Linked DNA regions of Homo sapiens: regions 1, 3, 4, 5 and 6 are each linked to region 2. Evidence: promoter capture Hi-C in 16 types of primary human blood cells and fetal thymus (Javierre and others, 2016). All regions are on one chromosome and are shown on one strand. Each heading gives the region's core, a stretch centred on a gene start or on the middle of the fragment in contact. The rest is flanking DNA. Distances are from core to core; before and after follow the strand shown.

Region 1 (4,023 bases), core at 1,383-3,882, 300 kb before region 2:
AACCTGTCCCTTAGAAAAGGTTCAGCTGTCTACCAGGTAGGGAGAGACACAGTAGAGGTGAGTGTGGATAGGTCAACTTACAGTGTAACCACAGGGGAGAGAGGGAAACCTGGGTTGGAATGCTGGCATTTGCTCCCCTGCCCTTCCTTGAGTGTGGTATCATCACTGAAGAGTTCCGCGTGGGCAGGGCAGAACTGCTGCCCTGCTTCTGGGTCATTCTCTGAGTCCCAGTGTTTACTATTGATGTTTCTGACTCAAGCCCTTCTAGCTTTGCCCTTTCAGGGGCAGGCATACCTCAAAACCGTAGACTGGTGTGAAGGTGTGGGTTGCCCCTCCACACCTGTGGGTGTTTCTCGTAAGGTGGAACGAGACTTGGAAAAGAAAAAGACACAGAGACAAACTATAGAGAAAGAAATAAGGAGACCCGGGGAACCAGCGTTCAGCACATGGAGGATCCCGCCAGCCTCTGAGTTCCCTTAGTATTTATTGATCATTCGTGGGTGTTTCTCTGAGAGGGGGATGTGTCAGGGTCACAAGACAATTGTGGGGAGAGGGTCAGTAGACAAACACGTGAACAAAGGTCTTTGCATCATAGACAAGGTAAAGAATCAAGTGCTGTGCTTTTAGATATGCATACACATAAACATCTCAATGCTTTACAAAGCAATATTGCTGCCCGCATGTCCCACCTCCAGCCTTAAGGCGGTTTTTCCCTATCTCAGTAGATGGAACGTACAATGTCTTGGTTTTATACCGAGACATTCCATTGCCCAGGGACGGGCAGGAGACAGATGCCTTTCTCTTGTCTCAACTGCAAGAGGCATGCCTTCCTCTTATACTAATCCTCCTCAGCACAGACCCTTTACAGGTGTTGGGCTGGGGGACAGTCAGGTCTTTCCCTTCCCACGAGGCCATATTTCAGACTATCACATGGGGAGAAACCTTGGACAATACCTGGCTTTCCTAGGCAGAGGTCCCTGCGGCCTTCCGCAGTGTTTTTGTCCCTGGGTACTTGAGATTAGGGAGTGGTGATGACTCTTAAGGAGCATGCTGCCTTCAAGCATTTGTTTAACAAAGCACATCTTGCACAACCCTTAATCCATTTAACCCTGAGTTTGACACAGCACATGTTTCAGAGAGCAAGGGGTTGGGGGTAAGGCCATAGATTAACAGCATCCCAAGGCAGAAGAATTTTTCTTAGTACAGAACAAAATGGAGTCTCCTATGTCTACTTCTTTCTACACAGACACAGTAACAATCTGATCTCTCTTGCTTTTCCCCACACTGGTGAGTCACTCCTCCTTTCCTCTCCCTCTACTCCCAGGAGTGAATTGTTCCCTCCAAACTAGAAACTGGTGACTGGCACTTCCTAGTTCTACCTGGAACTAGGAAACGAGTGGCAGTGGAATTTCAGTGTCCTTTAGTCTTTGCCTTCTGGCTCCAGATCACTTTTTTTTTTTTTGAGACGGAGTCTCATTCTGTTACCCAGGCTGGAATGCAGTAGCATGATCTTGGCTCACTGCAACCTCCACCTCCCGGCTTCAAGCGATTCTCCTGCCTTAGCCTCCCCAGCAGCTGGGACTACAGGCACGCGCCACCACGCCCGGCTAATTTTTTGTATTATTTATTTATTTATTTGTTTTTGAGACAGAGTCTCTCTCTGTCGCCAGGCTGGAGTACAGTGGCACGATCTCGGCTCACTGCAAACTCCACCTCCCGGGTTCATGCCATTCTCCTGCCTCAGCCTCCTGAGTAGCTGGGACTACAGGCGCCCGCCACCATGCCTGGCTAATTTTTTCTATTTTTAGTTGAGACGAGGTTTCACTGTGTTAGCCAGGATGGTCTTGATCTCCTGACCTCATGATCTGCCCGCCACGGCCTCCAAAAGTGCTGGGATTACAGGCGTGAGCCACCGCGCCCGGCCCCTAATTTTTTGTATTTTTAGTAGAGACGGGTTTTCACCATGTTGGCCAGGCTGGTCTCGAACTCCTGACTTCAAGTAATCCTCTTGCCTAGGCTTTCCAAAGTGCTGGGATTACAGGCGTGAACCCCTGCACCTGGCCACTCCAGACCACTTTTACCTCACCATGTTGCTCTTCAGTTCCTTTGTGATCATGTCTTGTGGAGTCTCCAGCCCAGTTCCGATTCAAGATAGAGCTACTGTGATTTTTTTTAAAAAAATTTAATTAGAATAGGTTAATTGACATGGTTTTATAATTAAAATGATATCAAAGGGGTGGGGTATCTCATTCCCATGTTGCTCCTGTTCACCCCAAACCCCAATAGTTTCTAATGTCTCTTCAGTGTTTCATTTTACAGATACAAGTATATATAAATAATACTTGTTTTTTCTCCCCTTTCTGACACAAAAAGAGGCATACTACATATATTCTACATCTTGCTTATATATATATATCATGGAGTTTTGTTGTTGTTGTTGTTGTTTTTGAAACAGGGTCTCACTCTGTTGCCCAGGCTGGAGTACAATGGCATGATCATAGCTCACTGCAGCCTTTTTTTTTTTTTTTGAGACAAAGTCTTGCTGTGTTGCCCAGGGAGGAGTCCAGTGGCGTGATCTTGTCTCACTGCAGACTCTGCCTCCCAGGTTCAAGTGATTCTCCTGCCTCAGCCTCCCGAGTAGCTGGGACACAAGCGTGCACCACCATTCTTGGCTAATTTTTGTGTGTGTGTATATATATATATATATATATTTTTTTTTTTGAGATGGAGTCTGGCTCTGTCACCCAGGCTGGAGTGCACTGGAGCAATCTCGGCTCACTGCAAGCTCCGCCTCGCGGGTTCACGCCATTCTCCTGCCTCAGCCTCCCGAGTAGCTGGGACTACAGGGGCCCGCCACCACTCCGGCTGATTTTTTGTATTTTTTTTAGTAGAGACGGGGTTTCACCGTGTTAGCCAGGATGGTCTCGATCTGCTGACCTCGTGATCTGCCTGCCTCGGCCTCCCAAAATGCTGGGATTACAGGCATGAGCCACTGTGCCCAGCCTTTTGTACATATTTTTTTAATTTAATTTTTTTTTTTTGAGATGGAGTCTTGCTCTGTTACCCAGGCTGGAGTGCAGTGGCGTGATCTCGGCTCACTGCAAGCTCTGCCTCCCGGGTTCACGCCATTCTCCTGCCTCAGCCTCCCAAGTAGCTGGGACTACAGGCACCCGCCACCATTCCCTGCTAATTTTTTTTTTTTTTTGTATTTTTAGTAGAGATGGGATTTCACCATGTTAGCCAGGATGGTCTTGATCTCCTGGCCTTGTGATCTGCCCCCATTGGCCTCCCAAAGTGCTGGGATTACAGGTGTGAGCTGCCCGGCTAATTTTTGTATTTTTAGTAGAGATAGGGTTTCACCATGTTGGCCAAGCTGGTCTTGAATTCCTGACTTCAAGTGATCCGCCTGCCTTGGCCTCCCAAAGTGCTGGGATTACAGGCATGAGCCACCGTGCCTGGCCTCACTGCAGCCTTGACCTCCTGGGTTCAAGCAATCCTCCAGTCTTAGCCTCCTGAATAGCTGAGGCTATAGGCAAGTGTGAGTGGTGAGCCATACCTGGCTAATTTTTTATTTTTTTAGTACAGACAGGGTCTCATCTGTTGTACAGGCTGGTCTTGAATTCTTGGCTTTAAGGGATCCTTTTGCCTTGGCCTTTCAAAATGCTGAATGACAGGTATGAGTCACTACACCTGGCCCATATTGGTTTCTAGGGATTGTGGCCTTGGCTGTTAGGATACATCCCACCCCCCTCCAAGTCAGCTGAGTTCAATTTGCACTTGTTCTGTGGACACATAAATGGGCAACACACGTTTCCACCACACCCAAAAATAGATTTAAATGCCATGCACATTTTATGTGATAATAATGAGACTTGTTTATCACATCTGTTAGGTTTGACTAGAGACCCTGGAGATCTCTAAACTCAAACCAGTTTCTGTTTCAGAGATTCAGGAAAGACCTGGATGACCTTGCGTCCAACATAATTGAGGATGAGGTTTCACTATTGTGTGACGGTTGTGGAA
Region 2 (4,093 bases), core at 238-2,737:
TATCTTTCTGTGCATGACTTATTTCACTTAACATAATGTCCTTCAGGTTTGAGGACTGAGAAGAGCAGACATTTTATTGTTCATCTCCATGTTGAGAATCAGAAATGTCCCCAATTAAAAAGTGATTACAAATATGTTATATCAGGAACTGTGGCTTGCCTGTGGGTCCTGGGTGGGCAAATAACTAATTTACATTCAATAGGAATGAGCTTGAAATTTCCTAGACATGATATGATTTGGCTGTGTTCCCTTCCAAATCTCATCTTGAATTGTAGTTCCCATAATCCCCACATATCATGGGAGCAACCCAGTAGGAAGTAAGTTAATCATACGAGCAGTTACCATCATGCTGTTCTCGTGATAGTGAGTTCTCACTAGATCTGATGGTTTCATAAGGAAGGGGCTTTCCCCATTGCTGCTCAGTGCTTCTCTTTCCTGCCACCGTGTGAAGAAGGACGTATTGGCTTCCCCTTGCACCATGATTGTAGGTTTCCTGAGGCTTCCCAAGCCATGCTGAACTAGAAGTCAATTTAACCACTTTCCTGGCCAGGCACAGGCCCATGCCTATAATCCCAGCACTTTGGGAGGCTGAGGCAGGTGGATCACTTGAGGTCAGGAGTTCAAGACCAGCCGGGCCAACATGGTGAAACCCTACTAAAAATACAAAAATTAGCTGGGCATGGTGGTGCTTGCCTGTAATCCCAGCTATGTAGGAGGCTGAGGCAGGAGAGTTGCTTGAACCTGTCAGGTGGAGGTTGCAGTGAGCTGAGATTGCACTGCTGCACTCCAGTCTGGGCTACAGAGTGAGACTGCATCTCAAAAAAAAAAAAAACCAAAACAAACAAAACAAAACAAAACCCCTCTCTTTCCTTTATAAATTACCCAGTCTGGGGTATGTCTTTATTAGCAGTGTGAGAACAGACTAATACAGACTACAAGGGTGGGAAATCCATTCTTTTGGGCCAAGTAATCTTACTTTTTTTCTGATGTTCAGTGGATAGGCTGATGTCAAACTTCAAATAGTGAATTATCATAAAGGAAGAAGAGCAGAGGGTGGTGCTGGGGGTAAGATATGCAGCACAAAGGCTACGTGGGTCTGATTTCCCAGACTTCAGGCTCTGAATGACACCTACCCAGGCTTGACTGGGAAGCTCCTATGTCTTAGCCCCTGAATTAATCAGAGGGATTCCTGCCTGGGAACGAAAAGCAGACATTCTCTATCAGGGTCCCTTATTCTTTTCTGAGTACTGGCCCCCCTGAGAGTACAGTAGAAGCTATGAATCTTCCCCCTACAAAAAAGCACTCATGTACCTTCAAACAAAATTGTTCTCAGTTTCCGTGATGCTCTTAGATAAAAAAATTTACAAGACCTCCGGTTTCTGGTTTCTGGGGCCCCACACAAGTGTGCTGGGTGGAGAGAAAATCTCAGTGGTTTTTTTTTTTTTCTCTCTAACCCTGTTTGGTAAGTTCCGTTTTTAGCCCCGGCCTTTTTCTAGCCAGGCTCTCAACTGTCTCCTGCGTTGCTGGGAAGTTCTGGAAGGAAGCATGTGCTCCAGAGGTTGGGATTCGTGTCTGGCTCTGGAATTGCTACTGCTGCCTCTGTCACTCCTGGTGACCAGCATTCAAGGTACTTTCCACCAACTGTGTATCTGTGATTGTGCACTGAAGGCATGGTCAGTTGGGAAAGGGGAGACGGGATGTAGTTCAACCCTAGAAGCCAGATCTGGTGTCTGGAAAGCAGGTATTTCCATTCCAATAGCATGGCCATGGCATGGTTGGGGAGCCTTTCTTAGCACTGATGAATGGAGCTTCATCTCCTTTCCCACGGGGATGTGATCAAAACAGGAACCTGGGGAGCAAGAGAAGTAGGCTCCTCATATTTTGTCCCGTGGTTGGTGGTCCATGAAGTTGTGGAAAAGTGTTTGTTTTTTCATTTTGAATAAGAAGAAGCTCTACACTGACAGCTGCTGCATTTTATGCTCAGACACACTGTACTCCCTTAGGCATTCTTTGAGACCTCTGTATATGTGAGGTGTTGCATCCTGAGCCAAGGTAAATGATATTGTCATTGACCCAAAGAAAAGATAGATCAAAATTATAGGAAGAAAAGCTTGGAAAGGATTGCTGTCTGGGGTCTCTGAATGAGGGTCTGAGAAGAGGCTGGAAGTGCTTCAGCATCAAAGGAACCTTAACACATCTGATTGCTAAGAGTTAAGGTCCATTCCTCTGCCACAGCCTGTTCGGTCCCCGGTGTGTGACCAAGGGCTGAGCTAACTTTCCTTCTCCTGTTAGAGCTGCCTCACCCTCTTTCTTCATCCAGTACCTCTCTTCTTATGCCAGCTGAGAAACAGCAGTGAAACCTTTGACTTTCTTGCTATTCCCCCAAGTAAATACTCAAGTCTTTTTAATTTAAAGGGCTTTAATGCTCACCACTCTGAGTAAAACAGTAAAAATCAACAAACATGTGGTAGTCACACTGTGGCATAAAATGATGATAGTTTGTAACTTTTGGGGAGATGAGGTAGAATGTGTGGAGGATCGGTCTCTCACATATTCTACCTCTCAGGTAGAGTCCTTTGGTTCATGACTGTGTGAGTCTACGGCTATATAGGTTCTGTGGGCCTGACTCAATGCATAGGACATTGGTATGACCTTGGGATTGGGGGCTGATGTGAAGTATTCATCTAACTATTGGGAAAAGCAGGGTTGCCAATGAGAATTGGAATATTTTAGGACTTTCTCTAGGCATACTGAAAACATCCTGACAGTTGACCTTTCTCTGACTTCTTTTCTAGGCTTCATCTTGGTCATTTATTCTTCTTTGAAACAATCAGACCACACCTGATTATGTTATCCTTTGAATGGATAATATTGGTTTTGATGAGGTTAGTAAACCTGGGTTATAACACCCGGGCTATAACCTGGGTTAGTAAAATACAAATTAAGCACTTACTGTGTGTCAGACATTGTGCTAGGCCTTTTGCATACTTTTTCATTTAACTTTCATTAGAAAATAGTGAGGTGGCTATTATTATCTACATTTTTCAGATGAGAATACTGTCTTGCAGAGAGATTAAGAAATTCTCCTAAGGGCACACAGGTCTAACTTCCAAACCATTCTATTATGATTATACCTTTCCTAGACTAAGGCGAGGGAATCTTGGTGAAGGTCAATGTGTCTAAATCTCTTAATTTTACTGTTTGCCTTAAAAGAGGCGTTTTCTCTTACCTCTGGGCTTATGTACATGCCTTCTTTCCACCTAGATTTCTCTCCCTCCTGCCCTCTCCCTGCCTCTCTTTTAGGCTTCTGTTTTTATGTGACTTCTTCTTGGACTGTCTGCCTGTGACTGTGTTCTGAAGGCATGGTTAGATGGGAACCTCAGGCTCCAGATTATGGTTTGTGAATTGCTTGGTGGATCATCTGTTTCCTTGAACTTTTTGAGGACAGAAACCATGTGCAGTGTTGTGCTGCTGAACTTAGCACAGGCCTGGAGTGTGGCATGTGCTCAATAAATAATTGTTACACAAATGAATGAACAACTTCAAAAAACTTCCTTTTGGACTACACATCCATATCTTCCTGAGAAGTGCAAGTAGTTCTCTCCTCTGCCGTAAGGGATGCTTCTGTGGAAAACTTTGAGAAGCACTCTTAGCTCTCTTCTTCCTTCTCTCCTCAGACTTGGGTTTCTCAGTTCTTTGGTTTCAAGGCAATGATTTAGGGCATGCTCCACAACTACCCAATTCCCCATCTGTCCACAACACTTAGCAGGATGAAGTAGACAGAGTATTGTACTAGAAATGAGATGACCTAGTTCTATCTGGGTTCCATGCTGTGGAATTTTCAACAAGTCATTAAAGCTTCCTGAGCCTCAGCTTCCTCAGCTCCATAATGGGTATAATAATCTGTTCCTCATTTCTTCAAGGGGTTGCTATTAAGATCAAATAAAATAAAAAATGTGCAATTGCTTTGCAATTGTGACACATGCGGAATCCGATACAGATGAAAACCTGGGAAGAGCATCAGTAAATTCTTAAGCCCCAAGCAGTCTCCTGAGCCCAAGATCAGAACTTCTGTCTCTTAAACATCTTCTCT
Region 3 (4,135 bases), core at 531-3,030, 310 kb after region 2:
GGAACCCTGCCTTAGGGAAGAAGGGGAGGAGGAAAAGACGCGGGCGCCTGGGAGTTTGAATGGCAGAGGAGAGGGGGCCTTCTCCCAGGAAACCTCCAAGAGGAAAAATGCCTTGGCCAGTTGGGTCCCCAACCCCAAGCAGGCAGATTGTCCATCCCAGGAGTTTCAGATACTTTAGAGTTGAAGGTGCCACACAGGGATTGTAGGATCTCACAAAATATCCTACACGTTTGGGGCATTTGTGCCTCCCAGTATGCCAAGAAACCAGTTAGGGTTCTTTTACATGTGACCCTACAAGAGTGAACCCACACCGTAAAAGCCTGGGCTGTGGGAAGTCCATGTTCCCCTTGGAGTAAGTGAAAGCAGTATTCAATTATCATTAATGTTATTGCCGTGCAACCCGCCACTTAGAGTAGTATCATTTCAAAAGCATCTTCACATACTTCTCCCTAAGCAGGCCAAGGCCTTTTCAATATCTCAGCCTCCTTCAGTTTCCAATCCTGGCACCTGCTTGAACAACCCTGTGATTAAGGAATCCCAGAGAAAGAGACTCCCAGCCTCTGTTCCTCACTTGTTTGGGAATTTTTGCTCCTCCCTGATGAAAACTATTTCCTGAGACCTAATCTCACCCCTTTTGATGGTTCATTCTAACCTGTCCAAAGATGAGGACAGAACCAACTATGCTGCATTGTTCAAAGATGCAGAACAGTAAAACACACTTCCTTTCTCCTTTGCCCAAACTCTGTCTTTCCTCATCCCCTCCTCCAGTAGTATGGGTAAGCAGGTGACTCAGCATCAAGACTACATGAAATATGCAGAATCATCATTTCAGGTACCCAAGTCCCTGCATGCGTCCAGGCACTCATTCACCTTGTGCCTATCATGTGCAGGCACTGGGCCGCACTGGGGCTCCTGGCAGTGACCACGACCAGGTGTATGAGGGAGTGGCAGGAGAGCTGGGGAAGGGTTAAGGGAAGTAGGGAGGACATGGGTGTCCCCAGCCCTGCCCCAAAGCACACCCCAGTGCTAGGCAGCTAGTGTGTAATTTGACACAGAGTCGGGGCTGCCGTGGCACTGTCTTGACTCTCAGGCAGATTTAGTGTGAATTATCTTCACATGCTGCTAGCCTGTTTCACAGACCCCAAAATGGCCCAAAGAACTGGAAAAAGGGCTTCTGATGCCAGAATTACAGATAATTCCATAGTCTGGCCCCACTGAAAGCTTGAAACCTAAGTCAGGATGTTAACAGACAAGGCTTCCCAATTAACAGGTATCAGGCATCAGGCTAGAATAAGCTTAGTCCCTCCTTTCTCTGACGGTGAGGTTGGGGGCTTTCAATTACATCTCTGCAATGAAAACACTGGATTACAGAGTCCAACAAAAAATTTTATTGGTGTGGTCTGTCCCATTCAGCAATTCTCTGTATTACCTTCTACCTTCACCTCAGGATAGAATCCCATCTGGATTTCACACGTCCCCAAGTCACTGAGTAAGCAAACAGAGACCCAGCTAGAAGGCCCATGTGCCCTATGGTCTAAGGGACCTAGCTTAATTCTTTAGAAGGAAGGAGAGCACTGAAATGACATTCAACTGAGATTTTCCTAAAGGGGCCAACCTACAATAACAGAGGGAGGCCAAGAGCCTGAGGGACAATAGAATGGAACAGATTGGATTTTGTACAGCTCCTGTCCTTGAGGACATAGTCGAATTTCTTAATTTCTTCAAGCCTCAATTTCTGCTTATATAAAAAGGGTCTAATGAGGTAACAGAAGGAACACCCTCCATATACTCATAGTGCCACAGTCAATTCCCAGTCGAGTTTCCCCTCTCTGTTCTGTGCCTAGGATACTTCTCTTAGGAGAGAACACTTCTCTAGGACACTTCTTTCAGTACTCTTCCTCGGGGAAGGAGGCCCCTAGCTAAAAGCCAGGGCCCTCCATTAAAGCCCTTTCAACACCTCACCAGCTCACTAGGTGGAGGTGGGGCTGGTGGGGTCAGATCAGAGGCTTCCCAGGAGCCCTGGGAGTTGGACCCTCCTGGGGAAGATTCAAGGAACTCAAGAAGTGACAGTAGACTCTCTCTGAGGGAAGGTCCAGACTATAGAGAAGCACCTACCTACTTCCTGTGTGGATGAAGCTGTCCCTGGAGGTCAGGCCCAGACCACAGTAGCAAAAGTTAGGTTTTCTGCTCTGATGAAAAGTAGGGCCTTTTTACAATGCTGCTCAGAGAAAGGGAATCCTTGGTACCTTACTCATAGAAGCTTCACACTATAGCAGAATGGCCATCAAAGTGTTTCCATGTAAGCAATTAGCAATTTTAGCCACCTCCCAGGTACAGGTGACTGCAGTAATGTACCCACATGCAGGGCCACAATCACCATCTACTTCCAGCCCTGCTGATGAGCCTGGGTACAAGTTGATCTCCCGGAATAGTTACAGATCTTTCCCCAGCACCCACCTTCCCAGAAAGGCTACTCTCAATGCTCACAAAAGGATTTCCAGACCCAGTCTATATTGGGAAATACCTGGGTTCTGGGTGTGAGGGGTTTCCCCCTTCACTTTTAGTTAAAAAAAAAAAAAAAAAAGAATAAAAGTAGCTCACACACAAAAAAACTTAACTGGTCAAGAACTGTATTATGTCATAGGCTTGTGGTGAAGTGTCTGTCATGTGAGATCCTGATCTCTAAGAAGAAGGACCATGCCTCATTCATTTCTATATCTCTGGCACATAAAATTCAATAAGTTAGCATTAGCTGCCTTCCCTTCTAGCTTCCTTCTCTTTCTCCCTTCCTCATCTATGAAACCTTGACCACTCCCTATTCATCCAACCTTTATTAAGTGTGAGTTTCCTCAAATCCAATCCCATTATCATTAATCTAAAATGTTACCTGCAATTAAACCAGTGGTTGTGAACTTTGACTGCAGATTTTAATCACCTGGGAAGCTTTGAAAACACATCAATGCCCAGGACCATCCCAGACTAATTAAACCAGAAACTTCTGAGGTGTGACCCAGCTATTGGCATTTTTTTTAAGATACCTCAGTGATTTTAATGTGAGAACCACTGAATGAAACTTTCTGATTTCCTTCCTCCTTCTTGGGAAGAATAGACACTCTCCAGCTCCCTTGGCTGGGACTAGGCCCTGCAGGTGTGCGTTATATCCTGTCCTTTCCCACCTCCATCCATTATTCACAATCTCTCCTGTAACCAACTTCGGCCTCTTCACTGATCTTTGCCCAGCAGACATAATAAAATGAAATACCTTCCTCCACTCAGCAGCCTCCTCTTGCTTTAGCCTTCGCTTTTATTTCTTTCTCATCCAACCTTCTTAAAAGAGTAGATTCTTAGGCCAGGCCTGGTGGCTCACACCTGTAATCCCAGCACTTTGGGAGGCTGAGGCGGGTGGATCACCTGAGGTCGAGAATTAGAGACCAGCCTGACCAACATGGAGAAACCCCGTCTCTACTGAAAATACAAAATTAGCCGGTCATGGTGGCAGGTGCTTGTAATCCCAGCTACTCGGGAGGCTGAGGCAGGAGAATCGCTTGAACCCAGGAGGAGGAGGTTGCGGTGAGCCGAGTTCGTGCCATTGCACGCCAGCCTGGGCAACAAGAGTGAAACTCCATCTCAAAAAAAAAAAAAAAAAAAAAAAATGGATAGATTCTTTACTATCTCTCTTCCTCCCTTCACTCCTCAGCTCCTTGCACCCCAGCCATCCTTCCAATGTGTTTTCTACTCCTGACTTCAAATACTATTATTTCCCAGAATTCAGCCTTTGGCCCCCTTACTCCCCACTCCACATGCTTTTCCAAAGCAATGTCATTCACTCCTGTGGCTTCAGTCAGTACTCACTTATGAGTGCTGCTAAATCCAGGTCTATCTTGTGAGCATAAGACTCAAATTTTCAACTTCCTACCATACATTTTAACTTGGATATTCCTTGGGTATCTTAAATGTAATAGGTTTAAAAGGAACAACATTATCTTCCTTCCACCTCTATCCCCTTGGCTTATTCAGACCTTTATCATTTCCAAACATGTCTCATTCCCTTCCAATCCGTCTTCCTCCCATGTTGCCAATGTGATTTTTATGAAAGGGAAATCAGCCTGTCACTCTCTTACCTAAAACAATCCAT
Region 4 (4,303 bases), core at 612-3,111, 260 kb after region 2:
GGGACTTACAAGGCATGAATGGGTAGTCTGACTAGAGTTAAATCAAGGAAGTTAAGAGATAATACTGATTACACTGTAGTGTTTTCATGATACTACATCTGTAAAATAACCACATAGAAAAAATAAACGGAGGAGAGAACAAGTACATAAAGTTAATCATCAATTGTTCTCAAAAGTGAACAGGGGACAGTGATTACCCCACTGGAAAAAGCCACGGAAAACTGATACATAACAAAGATAGCAATGCGTATCAGTAGGAAAACAATGGATTTTTAAAAATAAATCACACTGGAACAACTAGACCTCCTCCCACTACCTGACGCCATACACAAAACTCAATTCTAAGAGTATGAAAGACCTCAATGTAAGAGACAAAAATACAAAGATTTTAAAAGGCAATATAGGAGAATATCTTCATGATCTTGGCATAAAAAAGGATTTCTTAAACAAGACATAAAAAGCACTAATCATACACATACATTAAATTTTTAAAAATCCTTTTACTTAAAGAAACCATAAAGAAAGTAAAAACCAAGCCACAACTGGGAGCAGATATTTACAGTATATGTAACTGACAAAGGACTAATATCCAGAAACATGTAATGAATTCCTGTGAACACACACACACACACACACACACACACACACAGAGAGAGAGAGAGAGGGAGACACATGAACAGCATTTCCCAAAGGGCAAAGAGGAAATCCAAATGATCACTGAAGATACGTAAAATTGTTCACCCTCTTTAATAATCCAGGAAATGTACATTAAAATCACAGCGAAGGATCACTACACACCCCTAGATGACAAACACATTAAAATTAATAACGCCAAGTGTAAGAGAGGATGTGGAGCAATGGAAACTTGGTACCTGCTGGGTGCAGAGTCATTTAGTGTAAATGGTTTAGCTTTGTCTTCCACTCAGTAAATCTACCCATAAATATGTACACTAGACTTGGAGGGATTTCTGCCATCTGCACCGGGAGACACATGTAGGAATGTTCACGGGAGTGTTGTGCTAATTAGCTAAAACCCAGAAACAACCAAAATGCTCTTCAACAGTAGAATGAATAAGTACACTGTGATTTATTCACAGAACGGAATATCATACAACAACAATAAAAACTATAGGCCAGGCGCAGTCGTTCACACCTGTAATCCTAGCACTTTAGGAGGCCAAGGTAGGCGGATCACGAGGTCAAGAGATCAAGACCATCCTGGCCAATATGGTGAAACCTCGTGTCTACTAAAAATACGAAAATTAGCTGGGCGTGGTGGCATGTGCCTGTAGTCCCAGCTACTTGGGAGGCTGAGGCAGGAGAATCATTTGAAGGCAGAGGTTGCAGTGAGCCGAGATAGTGCCACTGCACTCCAGCCTGGCAATAAAGCAAGACTCCATCTCAAAAAAAAAAACAAAAACAAAAAAACAAACAAAAAAAACCCTATAAATGCATACCCACAGCTTAGCTCCCACTTAAAAGTGAGAACATGCAGTATTTGGTTTTCTGTTCCTGAGTTACCTCGCTTAGGATAGTGGCCTCCAATTCCATCCAAGTTTTTTCAAAATACATTACTTCATTCTTTTTTATGGCTGAGTAGTATTCCGTGGCATGTATATACACCATTTTCTTTATCCACTCATTGGTTGATGGGCACTTGGGTTGATTCCTTATCTTTGCAATCATGAATTGTGTTGCAATAAACATACATGTGTAAGTGTCTTTATTAATATGACTTATTTTCCTTCCTACTGGGTAGACACCCAGTAGCGGAATTGCTGGATCCAAGTGTAGATCTAGTTTAGTTGTTTAAAATATCTCTAGATCTGATAAATGAATTCATCAAATCTTAAGGTTACAAAAATTAATGTATACAAGTCAATAACACTGCTATACACCAACACAACCAAGCTGAGAATCATATCAGGAGCTCAATCCTATTTACAATAGCTAGCAAAAAAAAATACCTAGGAATATACTTAACCAACAAGGAGAACCACAAAACACTGCTGAAAGAAATCATAGATGACACAAACAAACATCTCATGCTCATGGATTGGAAATCTAAGAGAGTGGTGTAATGGACATTGGAGACTCACAAAGGGGGAAGTTGGGATGAGAATAAGGGATGAAAAATTATCTATTGGGTACAATGTACACTAATTTGGGTGATGGATACACTGAAAGCCCAGACTTCACCACTCTACAATTCATCCATGTAACTAAAAAGCACTGGTACCCCCAAAGCTATTGAAATAAAAATCAATTAATTAATTAAAACTATAAATGCATGCATCAGTCTGGAAAATCTCATAAACCTAATATTGAATGAAAAAAGCAACTTGAAAAAGAACACTTGCAGTATAACCCATTTATATAAAGACATAAACAAGCAAAACTAACTATATTCTGTAAGGATGCCAACACAGTTGTTAAACTACAAAGAAAAGAAATGATTATCACAAAAGTCAGCATAGTATTATCTACAGAGGGCAAGGAGGAGGAGGAGGGGCACATAGAGGGCAATGCTCTACTCTTTAAACTGTGTGCTGCTTATATTAGGGTTTGCTTAACTTTAAACTAGTTCATTAAACCAGGATATAGTAGTTCATTAAATAGGTTCATTAAATATGAATGAATTGGCTGGGCATGGTGGCTCATGCCTGTAATCCCAGCACTTTGGGAGGCCAAGGCGGGTGGATCACTTAAGGTCAGGAGTTTGAGACCAGCCTGGCCAACATGGTGAAACCCTCTCTCTACTAAAAATACAAAAATTAGCCAGACATGGCAGCGCATGCCTGTAATTCCAGCTACTCGGGAGGCAGAGGCACAAGAATCGCTTTAACCCAGGAGATGGAGGTTGCAGTGAGCTGAGATCACATACTGCACTCCAGCCTGGGTGACAGAGCAAGACTCCTTCTCAAAAAAAAAAAAAAAAATATATATATATATATATGTGTGTGTGTGTGTATATATATATATATGCATATGAATGAATTAATATAGTTCATTAAAATACAATATGGTATATTAAATCATGAAGTTGCTATTGTTACGTGCCAAATCTGAGCAAATATTGACAATTTCACATGCATGGTTCAACAAAAACTGAATGTGTGTGTTCATCCAATATAGTCTGTGTATGACATATTTCACAATAAAAGAATGAAAAAAGCAAGAAACAATCACTGGATAAAAGTCAGGAAACCCAGGTTCTAAGGTAACGAATTGGATTCTAACCTGAGTTATAATACCACACAGGTGCCCTTTACCCTAGATTCCACTTGTTAGTGGTTAAACACTGGACTCTGCAGATGGCAGACCACGTTTGAATCCCAGCCCAACACTTATAAGCTATGTCTCCTTGGCCCAATTAATCAATTTTTTGTCAGCGATTTCATCTTGTGTAAAGTAGAGGTAGATAACAGTACCTATATTACACAGTTATTATGAAATGTATGTAAATATGTATGTACATAAATAAAGTGTTGTCAATACTGTATATAGCTTAGCTTAATGCCTGGCACTTCATAAATAATTTATCAATGTTAGTTTTGTTACTGGGTCCCATTCTCTTCTGTCACATTTCTTCAGATGGTTTCAGAAAGGTGCAAATGAAGAATTATGTGAATATGCTTTGAAAAAAACAGAAGATTCCATGCAAGCACTATGACTGTCACTATTCTTATTCTCTTACACGTCCATATCAGTCCGTTATCATTCATCACAAGAGCAACATTATCAGCATGGAGACATTGGAGGCAAAGCAGCCAAAAGGAGTTAAGATAGAACCACCACTGCTTTCATGAAGTCTAGTGAACAGAACAGAGATTTAAACTGCATGCTCTTCCTAACCCCAGTCTCCTAGTGCAAAACTGAGAGTCTTGAACTCACAAATCCCAAGCCACCTTTCCAGGGGAGCCAGTTGTGCCAGGGAGTCAAGGTCAGCCAAGGCTTTGAGGATACCAGGAACAGAAGCTCTGAATGTGTAAGGTCCCTTTTCAGACAAAGCCACAGGCTGCCCAGACTAGGGTGGATTTCTGCCTCAGTAGGGCTTGCAGATGGCTTGGTTTTTTCCACCCTGAAACTCTTTTTTTTTATTCGAAGTTGTACAAACTATTTCTATATAGAACGTTAAAAAAATAAACAGGAAATGGGAGGTATCTGCTGTGGAAACAGGATGGATTGTGCCAACGGTCCCCGCCCCACCCTCGTAAACACCCCACCACCATCCCATTAGCAATAGGCACCAAAGACTGGAAACTCAGTTTAAACCTGAGACCAGAAGAAAGCTTAAAATCCG
Region 5 (3,889 bases), core at 489-2,988, 280 kb after region 2:
GTTGCTGGAATTACAGGCGCATTCCACCAAAATAATTTTTGTATTTATAGTAGAGACAGCGGGGGAGGGTTTCACCATGTGGGCCAGGCTGGTCTCGAACTCCTGATCTCAAATGTAAATAGCCTTTTTAGAGTAGTTTTAGTTTCATGTGAAAATTGAGTGGAAGGTACAGGGATTTTTTATACATGCCCTGCCCCCACACTTGCATGGACTCTCCCATTATCTACATCCCCCACCAGAGTGGTACATTTGTTCCAATTAATCACTCAAAGCTTATAATTTACATTAGGCTTCACTACTGGTACTGTATATCCTATGGGTTTGGAAAAATGTATAATGCCAAGTATCCACATTTATAGCACATACACAGTAGTTCCACTGCCCTAAAAAATCCTAAAACCACATACTTTTAACCACATACTTACCCTAAGTGAAGCAGCAGCATGACCTAATTGTGCCCAAAAGCAAGAAGGGACAATACACAACCGAAGATCTCATACTCCTAATTTTTTTTTTCTTTTTTCTTTTCTTTCTTTTCTTTTTTTTTGAGACAGAGTTTCACTCTTATCACCCAGGCTGGAGTGCAGTGGCCCAATCTCGGCTCACCACAACCTCTGCCTCCCGGGTTCAAGTGATTCTCCTGCCTCAGCCTCCCAAGTAGCTGAGATTACAGGCATGTGCCACCACGCCCAGCTAATTTTTGTATTATTAGTAGAGACGTGGTTTTACCATCTTGGCCAGGCTAGTCGCGAACTCCTGACCTCAGGTGATCCACCCGCCTCGGCCTCCCAAAGTGCTGAGATTATAAGCGTGAGCCACTGCGCCCAGCCATACTCCTAATTTTTATAACCTTATAACCAAAGTCATTCCCCTTACAGGATATCAGAGTACAGATGGCTATTTTTGACAAGTGACATCAAAATAGTTTACATATCAGGCTCAATACCCTCACACACTGTTGGCTTCAGTCTGCCTTTTACAGATGGTATTTACCACCTCCAGGAAAATAGTGTGCTTCCTCGGGTTGCCTACAACATATGACAAAATAAAATTTCCCAACTTATCTAGCAAAAGTCCCATGAGCTCCAAGGGGAGGGGGCCAATGTTTTATTTATCTTTGTATCACAATGCCTACCACACAGTAAGTGTGCCCCCAAAACTTGCTGAGATGAAATGAGAGAAGCCAATGCCTTGGCCAGGTTTCCCAACTCTAAACCAGTACCTTCTCCCACTATTCTACATACTCAAATGTGGCATTCACTGTTATGAGCAGGTAGGATGTCATGTCTGCCCTGCCGTTTGTACCAAGAGAAATGGACCCCATTCTCAGCCTGAAAAGAAACTGGGGAGCTAGACAGGGATGACTATTCTCCAAGATTTACTATGTAGGTGGTCCTTTATTATCTCTCTAGCATCTTCCATGACCATGTGTACACTAATGCTGCAGTGCTTTTCCAAAGGCTGACTTTCCCCTACCCCAGCCTTCCTGGCAATTGGAAGAGCATTACTATCATATGCTTAAAGTAACAAAAAAGCCAAGGGTTACCTTAAGCAAGCTGACTTTCAGTCTGTAGAAGCCATTAAACTATCCCAAACAAACAAAAAAAAATAGTAACAAAAAAATTAAAATTAAAAAATAAAAAACTAATAACAAATCACTGAGACCTTGGTCTAAAGATCTTTATGTCTCCTCAGCCAGAGCCCCAGCCCCCAGTTCCCCCTCTCGGCTGTATTTCAAAGGCAAAGGCTAAAAAACAAAAATCACACATGGGCAGCATATGTAATCACATATAATCACATATAATGTCATGAAGTCCCAGGCATGACCCTGACAATCCACCAAGCTGGGTCCCTAACTTCAGTGCTATGTGAAGAACTTCTGTGGAAAACACATCCTTTCAAACAAAAGTTACAAATACCCTTTGCTGCCTGACAAATGGTCAGGATTATCACTTTTGCTTGCAGCAAACCTCTAGAGAAAATATGATCTTATCAATCAAATATTGAGGTCTGGCTTTAAATCTATGAATTCCTGGGGCCAGCATTACAAGAGGAGGTCCCTGAGGTTAACTAGCCTTCTCAAGGGTCCACCAAGGTTAGCTCAGTGAGGGCAGGACCATATCCAGTATCTTTACCAGAGAAAGTACTTTAGTATCAGGCTGGGAACATCATAGGCACTAAATAAAGAATAAACTTAAAAGGTGTTTACTATACTTGGCTGTTGAGAACAAGAATAATTTCAGAGGCATGCTAAGGTAGAAATTTGGTCACAATGTAAGTCACAAGTTGACTCTGAAATGAACTGGAAACAGCAAGTGAAACTATTCTACAAACCTAGTTACAGAAAGAACAGAGCCGTGAGAATGGGGATGCAATTTCAAGGGAAGTATTTTTGTTTGTTTTCACATGAGAAAGACTGGAGTGCAATTTTAAAGGGAGAAGCAAGTATATGATCCCTTTCATGAGCCCCTATTGTATTGTTAGTTGTTCAGTTCATTATTCATGCAACAATTTTTTATTGAGGACCAACTATATGCGAGGAACTGGTTTCAATTCTAGGAATACTTAGATGAACAAAATGTAATCTCAAGGTGAGTGTGTTCCCCCATCTTGAGTCTTAAACAAACTTCCTAGATTTCTTGAAGGAAACTCCCCGAGCTCCTTGGAATCCAGCCAGGGTTTGTCTACACTCTGCCTGAGAACACGCCATGAAGCCTTGCACTAGGGTCACCCAGCCTGTCACCCCTGTAAACTGGGTCATCCTCCAGGATGGAGCCTCTCTTGCCTTTGCATCCCCAGAGCCTGGCAGAGTATGAGGCAGGGGAGAGGAGGAGGAAATCTAGTGAATAGGCCACCTCCATACAGAAATGCTTGTTTTTAACCTTAGCAGGCTGTTTACATGCTAAGCATCTTGCCCAAAGTCACAGAGGTCAGGCCCAGGTAAGACTGGGAGAAGGGACCCAATCTCTTGAGGGTGATTTTAGTACCTGATTACATGCATTACAGTGACAACAGAGCACTGAACTCTCTACATATTTAGAACTAATATATATACTACAGAAACTTGTCTCAATGAATTGTGATGGGCTGTCACCACTGACTGAAATCTCAACTATCCCCTGAAATTCCTATGGCACTTTATGTTTTAGAAATACGTTTTAGAAACCCACTCCTGCCCTAGAGGCCATACAGACACAAGCTTGCTCAGGAGGGTGGACCCAGGAAGTAATCTTTCTTTCTCTATCCTGACAACTACACCAGGAAGTGGTTAAGCCCTCACATTGTTGTTTCTCTCTCTTTAGAATCAGGATTCAGAATAAGCAATTTCCTTTTTCATTTTCCCATTTCTCTCCAACACACCCTGAAGGCCTGCAGAGCAATGATGAGCTCACACTGCCCCCTCCTGCCCATTCCCTCCCTAACAAGGAATATATTCATTATTCCCTGGCCCTCATTTGCTCCCATTCCTGTAAAGAAAGAAAAGCAACAGAATGCCCCCACAAAAGTCAAATGTCTTTATTTTATATAAAAAAAATTTGTACAGTTTTAGTTCCTATGTTTAAGAAAAAAATCCTAAAATTGCCGTAATGTTTAGATCCACTGCAAACTGTAGAAACAAGCTTTTTATATATTAAAAAAAATTTACATTTTACAATTTTCTACATGCATGCACAAGGTCTCAGCTCTGTAACCCCACCCCCCCAAAAAAAAGGAAAAAAAATCTAGATCCAACAGTGGAAAATTCTACATTTACAATCTCACTTGGAAGGGACTCAAAAAGCCCTCTTCCTTTTGCGCACGGAAGAACAAATCACAACAATCACACACCAGGACTGAATCCATCAGCAGATACTGCCCTGTGGGAAGGGCAGAGGAAAGAGAAGACAGA
Region 6 (3,718 bases), core at 318-2,817, 280 kb before region 2:
TTGACAAGAAAAAATATGCAGAACATGCTTGTCCTCAGGCTTGTCAGAGACTCCTATAACCATATAAAGAAGCTGAGGGTTGATCATGCTTGAGCTATGATACTTATTAAAATAGTACTAGAAAGACAAATAGAATGTAGCATGGCAAAAGAGCTGCACATTTTGGGAGAAGGCATTTATTTGTAGGGGCTGAAATGTGCTAGCTCGAGAATCAGACCTAAGAATTACAAGGTGATTAACCAAAGGAAAAAGTCTCTGGAAGTAGAAAACTAAAAAGAAGGTTTGGAACAGGCTGGAAGTGAGATTGAAGCATATCACAGAAATGTTAGACATTCTTCAATGTCAGTGCCTTGGATGAATTTATAAGGCTTTGCCTTAAAGTTACTTGTGGGCTTATAAAGCCTGTGTCAAAGCTAAACAAAGCCAGACAATAGTTTAGACAAGAAGTAAGGATAGGTATTTATTTATTTATTTGAGATGGAGTTTCACTCTTGTCGCCCAGGCTGGAGGGTAATGGCGCGATCTTGGCTCACCGCAACCTCCGTGTCCGGGGTTCAAGCGATTCTCCTGCCTCAGCCTCCTGAATAGCTGGGATTACAGGCATGCACCACCACGCCCGGCTAATTTTTTTGTATTTTTAGTGGAGACAGCGTTTCTCCATGTTGGTCAGGCTGGTTTTGAACTTTTGACCCCAGGTGATCTGCCCACCTCGGCCTCCCAAAGTGTTGGGATTACAGGCGTGAGCCACTGCACCCGGCCTAGGATAGGTTTTTTTAAGTAGTAACTATTGCAGTAGGGAAGAGGGCCCAAGGTGAACTGAACTTAACTTCCTTAAAAAAAAAAAAAATGCAGGAGGCCTTTTGAAGGCTGGGATGTGCTAAGGGATAGGCATGAAGATATTAAGGAGAATTGCTCCATGTGACTAGACAATCTGGATTTGTGAATTGGCTCTTGTCCAGAAGAGAAATAAGCACCTATTTTTACGACAGGAGCTAGTAGTGCAAGTTAGAGCAAGGCACCCACCTGGTTGGGAGCTGGAGCAAGATTTATTTCCTCAAATGTTTGCATTTCAAAGAAACTCTCAGGTCCCAGTGAAAATAGCTCTGGGTAGAAGATTTACATCTCAAAGAGGCAGAGAAAGATGTTTTAATTGCAAGCTTTCTTTCTAAGTAATTGCACTAAGATGAAGTTCAGGGGCCTGTGTCTATTGCTAGGTTTGGGCTGGGATGCACAGTAAATTTTTCTGACAGCGATGAGCTTTTTCAGGCAGGCATTTTAAGCGGGGGGCTGAGGTCCTCCTAGGGACAAGGCCTTAAGTTGCTAGAAGCCATGCTAGAGCTTGGTTAAGGAGAGTCTTTGTTACCTGGCGTCTCTCTGCAGTGCCGTTTCAATGCCTTAGAGCAAGAGAGTGGTGGATGGACAGTGATAGTGATTCACGTGCGCAATTCACAACTTGCATTAGCAACCAGGCAAAAGCAAGTGCTGCTTTTAGAGGCCTTGGGAAGAATTTCCACAAGTTTCCGGCCATTGGGATACAGGGGAAAAGGGATTGGAGGGAGGCTCATCGGGAACAATACATTAGGTAATGTTGGGGTTTATAAATCGATACCCCCAAATATAGTACTGAACCGAAGAAGCAACCTGAAGATCTCTCTGACCTTCCCCGCTCCACACGGTCTCTCCCAAAAAGCTGAAGTTCCTTTATTTGCCTAAGATCCAGACCCTCCAAGGAGAACAGTAGGTTTCTTTTCCTCCTGTAAGACCAAAAATGTAACCACACCTGAACAGACCTTTTCATGAGTTAATGCCTGCTTCTCATGGTCATCTAAATTCCAAAGAAAACTATTTACAAGTTAATTTGTTTCCTGATCAAATCATTCTCTTTAGTAATCATTTATTGCCCATCAACAGAATTCCTTTTCTCCCGCAGGATCCAAACTCATTCTTTCTGTAACCTCATGATGGCGTATAAGCTTTTGCACCTCACTGGGAGGTTGGGTCTTCATTCTGAAGGCTTCTATGTATACATATTAAATAAGTTTGTATGCCTTTTTTCCTATTAATCTGCCTTGCGTCAGTGATTTTCAGCAAACTTCAGGGAGCCAAAGGCCTTGGCTCCCACAGTGATAATAAACAATATGACTTTTGGCTATCAAAATTCCTGCTGTTAGTTAAGGAAAAATTGTGACAGTTTCTGAAATGGACAAATACAGGCATCCTTCCAGTGGATTACTAGGATTTGTCTAGACTAGAGGACAGGATGCTTCTGGGGGTTTTCTGATTCTCTACAGGTCAGTATCCTTCCTTGTCTTGTACTGTTTTGCAACTCTAGAAAGAAAAGTTAAATATGTAGAAGCCTGACAGTGATACAAATGATCCCTGTTCATATTAATACAAATGCAAATTGTTTGCCTGGTAGAGATACAATTGATTTTCTCTCTGTAGAAAAAAAGATGATCCCAGCCAGGCGTGGTGGCTCACCCTGCAATTCCAGCACTTTGGGAGGCCGAGACAGGCAAATCACAAGGTCAGGAGTTCGAGACCAGCCTGGCCAATATGGTGAAACCCTGTCTCTACTAAAAATACAAAAATTAGCCAGGCGTGGTGGTGGGCGCCTGTAATCCCAGCTACTCTGGAGGGTGAGGCAGGAGAATTGCTTGAATCTGGGAGGCGGAGTTTGCAGTGAGCTGAGTCCTCGCCATTGCATTCCAGCTTGGGCAACAGAGTGAGATTACATCTCAAAAAAAAAAAAAAAAAAAAAAGAATCCCAGAAATTAAATGTTTTATATTTTTGCCACAAGAAAACACGTGCAAGTATGAAACTTTTTGTAAGGTCCTCTGAGCTGGCTGCACTATGGTCAAGCCACGGTGACATTCCCCCACCCTTGTGATAATGTACTTTGTGATACTCCTGTCCTTGTGAATGTACTTTGTAACATTCCTCCCCACCCTTGTGACAATACATCCTCCCTGCCCTTGTGACAATACACCCTCCCTGCCCTTGTGAATGTACTTTGTAACATCCTCCCCACCCTTGAGAATGTACTTTGTAATATCCATCCCCTGCCTGTAAAAAATTGCTCCTGACTACACCGCCTATCCCAAACCTATAAGAACCAATGATAATCCCACCACCTTTTGCTGACCCCTTTCTCGGACTCAGCCCACTCACACACAAGTGAATAAACAGCCATGTTGCTCACACTAAGCCTGTTCAGGTGGTCTCTTATGTGGACACGCATAACACTTTTATTATTATTATTATTAAAAAAGTAATAATAAAAAGAGACAGAGTTTTGCTCTTGTTGCCCAAGCTGGAGTGCAATGGCGTGATCTTGGCTTGCTGCAACCTCTGCCTCCTGGGTTCAAGCAGTTCTCCTGCATCAGCCTCCCAAGTACCTGGGACTACAAGCGTGCACCACCACGCCTGGCTAATTTTTTGTATTTTTAGTAGAAACGGGGTTTCACCATGTTAGCCAGGCTGGTCTCGAACTCTTGACCTCAGGTGATCCACCCGCCTTGGCCTCTCAAAGTGCTGGATTACAGGTGTGAGCCACCACGCCCAGCCGAAACTTTTATTTTTTATTTTTTTATTTGTTTGAGATGGAGTCTCTTGTTGCCTAGGCTGGAGTGCAATGGTGCGATCTTGGCTCACTGCAACCTCTGCCTCCTGGGTTCAAGCAATTCTCCTGCCTCAGCCTCCCGAGTAGCTGGGACT

The links. The method cuts DNA at HindIII sites, captures the fragments that hold promoters and counts their contacts. A CHiCAGO score of 5 or more calls a contact.
Region 1: a fragment that was not itself captured here is called in contact with the fragment with the promoter of CD48 in region 2 in 14 of 17 cell types (naive CD8 T cells, fetal thymus, naive B cells and 11 more); the score reaches 12.5 in naive CD8 T cells.
Region 3: a contact is called between a fragment that was not itself captured here and the fragment with the promoter of CD48 in region 2, in 6 of 17 cell types (non-activated CD4 T cells, fetal thymus, total CD4 T cells and 3 more). The highest score is 7.9, in non-activated CD4 T cells.
Region 4: a contact is called between a fragment that was not itself captured here and the fragment with the promoter of CD48 in region 2, in 2 of 17 cell types (non-activated CD4 T cells and activated CD4 T cells). The highest score is 9.0, in non-activated CD4 T cells.
Region 5: a contact is called between a fragment that was not itself captured here and the fragment with the promoter of CD48 in region 2, in 9 of 17 cell types (non-activated CD4 T cells, activated CD4 T cells, naive B cells and 6 more). The highest score is 15.3, in non-activated CD4 T cells.
Region 6: a contact is called between a fragment that was not itself captured here and the fragment with the promoter of CD48 in region 2, in 15 of 17 cell types (naive B cells, total B cells, activated CD4 T cells and 12 more). The highest score is 17.2, in naive B cells.

The regions. Positions count from the first base shown.
Region 1 is chr1:161,014,096-161,018,118 of GRCh38, reverse strand. All of the region lies in intron 1 of F11R (F11 receptor), which reads left to right. Among named protein-coding and RNA genes, the nearest start is that of F11R, 5.0 kb to the left of the region's middle. RefSeq lists enhancers at 1,617-2,214, 3,856-4,023. The HindIII fragment of the contact is 7,117 bases long and covers 1-4,023 here.
Region 2 is chr1:160,709,216-160,713,308 of GRCh38, reverse strand. It overlaps CD48 (CD48 molecule), which reads left to right and starts at 1,487. Exons shown (of 4, transcript NM_001778.4): 1 at 1,487-1,627. The coding sequence starts at 1,546. RefSeq lists enhancers at 459-518, 1,059-1,238. The HindIII fragment of the contact is 2,140 bases long and covers 1-2,112 here.
Region 3 is chr1:160,395,751-160,399,885 of GRCh38, reverse strand. All of the region lies in intron 3 of LOC105371466 (a long non-coding RNA gene), which reads left to right. Among named protein-coding and RNA genes, the nearest start is that of VANGL2, 2.7 kb to the left of the region's middle. The HindIII fragment of the contact is 965 bases long and covers 1,298-2,262 here.
Region 4 is chr1:160,446,957-160,451,259 of GRCh38, reverse strand. No RefSeq gene overlaps it. Among named protein-coding and RNA genes, the nearest start is that of VANGL2, 49 kb to the right of the region's middle. The HindIII fragment of the contact is 4,867 bases long and covers 1-4,294 here.
Region 5 is chr1:160,428,282-160,432,170 of GRCh38, reverse strand. VANGL2 (VANGL planar cell polarity protein 2) reads right to left here. Exons shown (of 8, transcript NM_020335.3): 8 at 3,501-3,889. Among named protein-coding and RNA genes, the nearest start is that of VANGL2, 30 kb to the right of the region's middle. RefSeq lists an enhancer at 2,074-2,303. The HindIII fragment of the contact is 2,927 bases long and covers 275-3,201 here.
Region 6 is chr1:160,985,202-160,988,919 of GRCh38, reverse strand. No RefSeq gene overlaps it. Among named protein-coding and RNA genes, the nearest start is that of ITLN2, 32 kb to the right of the region's middle. RefSeq lists a silencer at 1,227-1,521. The HindIII fragment of the contact is 816 bases long and covers 1,160-1,975 here.